2 separate regions of the Homo sapiens genome follow, and region 2 is linked to region 1. Evidence: promoter capture Hi-C in human tissues and cell types (Jung and others, 2019). All regions are on one chromosome and are shown on one strand. Each heading gives the region's core, a stretch centred on a gene start or on the middle of the fragment in contact. The rest is flanking DNA. Distances are from core to core; before and after follow the strand shown. Region 1 holds the start of PHYHIPL (phytanoyl-CoA 2-hydroxylase interacting protein like). Region 2 overlaps LOC102724768 (a long non-coding RNA gene).

Region 1 (3,140 bases), core at 562-3,061:
CTTCCTATGCGTTATTAAAAATAATCTTTACAGTCTATAATCATGCAAGCTTACATATGGAATACCAAAATGATAAATGTTTTTAGATACCATAAATATGTGCACTTACTACCATGGTGACTAAAACAGTCTAAGAATAAAGGAAATACAAGCTGTCTTTGCAAACGTATTTATTTATTCATATACTACACCTGTATCAGAAATTAAAGTGGTTTTGGTTTCAAAAAGTTTGAATTCTGGTTTCAAAATTATTAAATATAAATTTATATTAATAAATATAAAATTTAGTAATAAACAAATTCGGTGCTTGCTTGATATAAACGTGCTGAATAGCAATGCGTAACCAAGTGATTACCATTTAAATGACTTTGGAAACAAGACCTCTGCTCCCTATTTGGATTAGGCTGATAAATTTTATGACCTTACTGTGAGCGTATTAGTATCTGTACATAACTTTGGTTAAAGACATGTTTTACAATCATTACCTCTATATACAGTTAAACATTAATTTCATTTACAGTCAAAAGTATTTGGGGCCCTCTTAACAACATGTGAACTGTGTTTCCTTTGTCAGATGTAGAATTTTACAATTATTCGGCCAACCAATTACTAATCAAATGATTTCTTTACAAATGAAGTTTTGTACCACATTACTAAAGTAGCAGACTCTAACTAGTCCAGCTAACCCAGAAGCACTGTAACTAACCACACCGCACACAGCACTAGCTTATGTCTTCAACGCTCAGACCTGTATTCAATCAATTTCCTTCCACAGGAGCCTGCCAACTTCAACAACAGAATAAACGATATAATATCAACACGCAATGGTACGTACTCGCCACAAAGTCTGAATCACAGCACATATATTAGGCCAATATTTTCGACAGTCTGACTCAGAGCCCAGGAACCATGAAGATTGTGTCTGTCCTTGGTGCTGAAATGCACTGTTTTTCTGCGCCCTCACTGAAAAACTGTCATCCTAATCCCAATCCAAGAGGCTAAAAAGACTTGTTAATTTGGGGAGTCTGAGGATGGGAGGTTTAAAAAAGAAAATGATAAGTTTCTGGAAGAGAATGCCAACTAGTGTGTGTGTGTTGGGGGAAGGGGGTTGCTAGAAACATCCCGAGGGCATTTCCCCTTCAGTGCCCAGAGACCCAGGAAATCCGGACTGCGGCAAAGATCGGAAACGCCTCGTCGGGGCAGGAGCCGCGAGCGGGAACGTCGCCCTCGTCCGGGCCAGGCGGGCGAAGGCGGCGAAGGGCGCCACGGTTGTGGACGGCTACTTTCCGCGCCAAGGCGCGAGCCCCGGGGTCCTTTTGTTTCTGGGGTGAGGGGAGGGCGGTGGGCGGAGGGTAACCCACATCTGCATTTATTTGCACAGAGGGGACAACAAAAGACCCTGCCGCCCTGGCGAGCGGCGTCGGCGGAGCCAGAGTGGCCCCGGCGCCTCGGCGCGAACTCTGTCCCTTTCCTCGCGGTCCCGGCCGCTCTTACCGTCCCGGTCGCACAGCTGAATGGCCTCCAGGCTGAGGTTTTTGATCACCTCCTCACAGGGGCTGGTGGGGCTGTTGAGGGCATGATCCAGGCGCGGCACCTCCATTTTTCCAACCCACTCTGAAGCCCGCCTGCTTCGTATCCAGGCTCTCTCTGCCGGCCGGGTGGGCAAGAAGAGCGGGAAAGGGAGGGGGAGTGGCAGAGGGAGGGAAGGAGGCCTGGGACGCGGTGATGCGGCGCCGAGGCTGAGGCGCGGGGCTGGAGAGCCGCCGCGAAGGCGACGGCTGTGGCAGGAGCTCCGCGGAGTGTGCGGCTCTGAGAGACCGAGCAGGACCCGGCGCGAGGATGGGAGGCGCGCGCTCCCGGCGGGGAGGGGACGCTGCTCTCGGGGAACGTGATGTATAGGGCTTCGACGCGCGCACGCGCGCGGGAGAACGCGCCCACCTGCTGGCGCGCGGTGGTCCCTCCCCCGCCCTTCTGCGCGCACGCGCCCCCACCTGCCCTCCAGCCACTGCCAAGGCAACCTCGCGCGTGAGGCGTCGGGCGACCGAGCGCGCGGGAAGGGCGAGCGCTATACGCCGCGCGGCTGCCTCGCCCTCTCTCCTGGTGATAGCCATTTGGCGTCTTCTGTCTGCTCTCGGTGCCTGGCGAAGCCCGAGTTGGCCCTGAGGCGTCTGCACGGGGAGGCGAGGGCGAGCATGTTTGTTGTTTACCAAGAATTGGAAAAATAAGGGCCCGGACTCTTCGGACTCTCTGTACGGTATTGGGGTGTGGGAGCCACCTCCTCCCCTGAAGGTCCCAGGATACTCGCTGCCCGCACCCTGCGGGCTCGGCCGGACATTCCTCGGAAACAGCTGCGTCTGTGTGAGAAATGAGCGGATTACCTGAGGCGTGGAGGGGTTTAGAGACAGCATTTTGCCAGTCCACGACACTGAAGCGGGGCAAACGTGGGAACTCCTTACTGCCAGAAAGGTGAGGGAATGAGGAGATGCAGCAAGCCTGCTGAAAAGGCGGCAGACATGCTGCGGGGCCAGCAGCCACGGGACCAGCAGCCACGCAGTCTGCCTTCGCAGCGTAGCTTCATTCATTCATGCGCGTAGCAAATAAGTATTCAATGCTCACCCTATGCCATTGTTCTGGGCGTCAATGAAGGGAGTATAAACAGCACCTGCTCCCATGGATTTGGAAGGAATCTTTGCTACAATAGCTAATGAAGATTGACTTGTGCTTCCTCAAGCTACTCTATAACTTGTATGCCCATTGATTTTAATTGCATTTAAGATTCTGCAGTGCACTTAGTGGATGTGCAAACGTTTTAAACATAAAATAGAGGTCACAGCCTATTGACCTCTGTTCCCGTTTGCTTCTTTGGAAAAGTTTTTAGTTTTGTTGCTATCTTGGGATCAAAAATAGTGTCCCCTCTTTTCTTAATGTGCTTATAAATTAATATAAGTTCCCTTTTATTGATTTTCCATTTCAAACATAAATGTTAACCAACAAGTAACAGTTTACACATAGATGTCTGTATGCTGCTCTTTCTAGTCACATCCATTTAGCTATAACATGATGAAGTCTAATTAATTGAAGCTTCAATAAATGGAAGGACCAGCTTAAAGTAAAATAAGCCTGTGAAAAATCTTGGCACA
Region 2 (3,329 bases), core at 191-2,690, 150 kb after region 1:
GGTTATGTAAGAACTCAGACAGGGGTGAAGAAGGACTGTATAATTGTGCACATCTCTTGACCCTGTCATCTGCCAAGGCTACCATTACAGCCAGCAGGAGCCATTTAGGGAAAAGAACAGGAGTAGGTGGGATGGGGTCGGTGGGGCAAGGCAGCTATAGGTTGCTAAGGACATTCCCAAATAGAAAGGAAGTCCCTGTCACAGTTGTCTCTTCTCATTACAGAAAGCCCACCTCAGGAATTGTCCCAATGCTCCTAGTTTTATCCCAGGCCTTGCACTGTGCCCCCTGGTGTTTCTCTGATTTCCCTGGCTCATAGTGACCTTTCCCCTTAGTTTGGGATCAGTGAATGGAGAGGGTAATGGTGTTATTGATTGTATCCTTGTAGAGAAAGAGTGTTATTGTAGGCAATATGAATGAGAAATGTATCTTCTATTAGGTTCTACACGTAAAAGGCATAATTCATGTGGTTATCTATGCTTAGAATACTTTATGACTTTTTTGGAAGGATTAAATATATTAAGATGGTAGAATTAGGCAAAAATGAGCTAGTGAGTAAGAACAGCATGCCTCCACTACCCTATACTGGGTACACAGGCTTGATAAAGGAGAAAGAATTATACAGAAGTCTTGAAGGGCTGTAGTAGGTTTCAGGGGAGTTGGTCCCTGTTACCAAAAACGTTTGCACTATGAATAAAAGATGATGCCTGAGTAACACATTTGAGACCTTCTTGGGCATCATCCTTGCCTGTTTTCCATTAGCTTAAGGAGAGGCATGAGTATAGTGATGTCTGTAATTGCCTGTCCTACCTGACACGGTCACTGAATGGCAGAAACCCTGGAGTGGAGATGGGTAGCTGATTCTCCTGGTGGCTTGGGTCACTGGCCTTCTTAGTAGCTTACTTACTTGAGTACTTGCCCTGCTCTTTGGTGGTGGCAGAAAGTCAAGCCCAGCTAGAAAGAGTTGGTCAAGATACAAAAGGGAAAAATACAAACCAAGCAAATAAAATGTTTAAAAATGTTTTAAGAAATCATGATTTAATATTAACAGCACCCAGAACTTCATTGCCAAGTTTATTAAATGTTATCAAAGACATTTAGCTAATATAGATTAAAAGACCCCTAGGCCTCTCTTATTGTCTTCAATCCTATATTGTTAGAAGTGATCTACTTTTTAAAAGTGATGCAGGATATACAAAAATTCTCAATCTCTGCCAGTATTTAGTTCATGTAGAGATGAGCGGGCTCCATTTCTCCTAGACTGAGCTACCATTATCTCCACACCCACTCTATCCTTTTTCATTTCTCCCTGATTCCCGACCTAAGGAAAGAGAGACTGCCCTACTTGTCCTCAAGATTCCCCTTTTAAGCTTCAGGGAATTAAACATGAAGCATAAGAACATTGCATTATCTCCCTGATTCCGAGTAACCAAATGTCCTATTCCACTCATAAAATTTAAATTTTTTCTTCATGTAGTTGTATAAAGCATTTTATCTGACTTGATTTTAAGATGTCGTTTACCTCTCAGAGAAGCAGAATGGTGAAATAGAAAGAACTAAGGTCTAGACTAGGGCAGTTCTGGTCCCAAATCCAAGATCTATATATAAGGTATCTTCATCTCTCTAAGTCACAGTTTCCTCCTATGTAAAATGAGATAATAACAGTTTCTAAGTTTTGGGGAAGCACTAAGTAGGATAATAAATGTAAAGCACAAAAATAGGACAATGTTAAGTTTCCACTCTTTTTCTTGTTTCCCTAGGGAAAGCTCAGCTTCCTCATATACTGTGTACGTGATACAGTCCATGTGGCCTCCTAAGACGAGGGTCATCTTACATATCCCAGAGTCCAGATCATGTCTGCGCTGTTTTTCTGACATCAAAAGTTTATGCTCTTGTTGGGAGTCCACTGGAAATGACGTTTTCTTGAAGTGTATTTAATGATATAAGGAAATGAACAGGCACCATTCATGAAAATATAAGATAGAAATTATGCAGTATAAATACAGTTTTCAGAAAAGAATATATGTCCATACGTTTATATATAGGACATTTGGTGGCATCACAATTTATCTCACCTGTATAATACCAGGTAGTTGTTCAGGAAGATACCAGACACTTTTTTTTTCTTGCTGAGTTGCGGCATTTAAAACTGAAAAGAAAAGCAAAATTGCCTACATGTGGGAAATATTCAGAGGGAGAGAGGATTTAGCTAAAAGCTAAATACAGAGCAGGAATTTTTAAAGCAAAATGCTGTGTGTTCTCTGAGGCTGTTTCTACCCTTTTCTCTCATCTGCTTGAAATTATCGGTAAAGTAGGGATTGCTCATCGGGTACGAAATGATACAAGATGAGTGAGGGGAAAGCCACAGGCTGCTGATGGGCCCTGACTAAATCGAGAGGATTATAATCACACACTCACGCATGCGCGTACACATGCATTGAAAAAAGAGAAGGAAAAGACAAAAAAAGTTATCAACTTTGTGTAATGATATTCCCTATTGAATTGCATTTTCCAAGCTTAAAAATGCCTCTTGGGCTTTATTTGACAAGCTGAAATAGTAAACTGATCATGAGCCCCAAGAAAAACTAAAGCTGTCCTGGATTAGGGTTTTATTCTCTCCACTTCCCAGATCTTTGGTGCTCATAGTGGATCTTCAATAGAAGAATAGCGTTATCAAATTTTGAGTTAACTTTTCAACATCCAATCTTTTAAATCATATAACAATGTACTACACTAAGACATCACTTTTCAGAGAGACTTACCAAAGGCCACACATAATTAGTGAGAAAACAACCTTGGAAGCCTTGACTCCATGTTACCTCTACGCCTCTCTTTCTTCATTGCTTTTATATGCATGAGCATTAAGAAAAAACAATGTGTGTTAATGTGCATGTGATTGTATGTGTGTGTATGTGTGGAGAGAAAGAGAAAGATAAGAGAGCGAGAGAAATTACATATATATGCATAGATACATACATGTATCTATATATTATATACATTTCTATGTTTGTGTGTATTTTTTTTCTTGAGGGTGCAATAGTCTTAATTTACACTTTACATTAAAGTGTAAATTAATTGTACTTTAATGCCAGAAATATCTCAAAACATCTGGACCTCTGTCAGGGTTATGGCGTGAGGGAACTGTGACTTGGGAAGCCAACCAGGAAGGTATGCTCAAGAAGCAATTCTTAGGACTTAATGTTTCAAATAAAGGGCTTAATCATCATGTGAAACCCTCAGGGCCCAGGCCCAGAAAGAGCAAATTTCCTCTAAAGGACTTCTAGCATCAAGTCTCTGCTTGGTTTGGTTAGTCCATCAGGCACAGTTCCTA

What was found. The method cuts DNA at HindIII sites, captures the fragments that hold promoters and counts their contacts. A contact is called where the count stands out against the background at its distance.
Region 2: a contact is called between a fragment that was not itself captured here and the fragment with the promoter of PHYHIPL in region 1, in 1 of the 25 tissues and cell types used here (dorsolateral prefrontal cortex).

What each region holds. Positions count from the first base shown.
Region 1 is chr10:59,175,314-59,178,453 of GRCh38, reverse strand. It overlaps PHYHIPL (phytanoyl-CoA 2-hydroxylase interacting protein like), which reads right to left and starts at 1,811. Exons shown (of 5, transcript NM_032439.4): 1 at 1,495-1,811. The coding sequence starts at 1,600. CCEPR (cervical carcinoma expressed PCNA regulatory lncRNA) reads left to right here and starts at 1,990. Exons shown (of 1, transcript NR_131782.1): 1 at 1,990-3,140. The HindIII fragment of the contact is 6,557 bases long and covers 1-3,140 here.
Region 2 is chr10:59,021,387-59,024,715 of GRCh38, reverse strand. It overlaps LOC102724768 (a long non-coding RNA gene), which reads right to left. Exons shown (of 3, transcript XR_428752.5): 2 at 2,074-2,147. Among named protein-coding and RNA genes, the nearest start is that of LINC00844, 24 kb to the right of the region's middle. The HindIII fragment of the contact is 4,949 bases long and covers 1-3,329 here.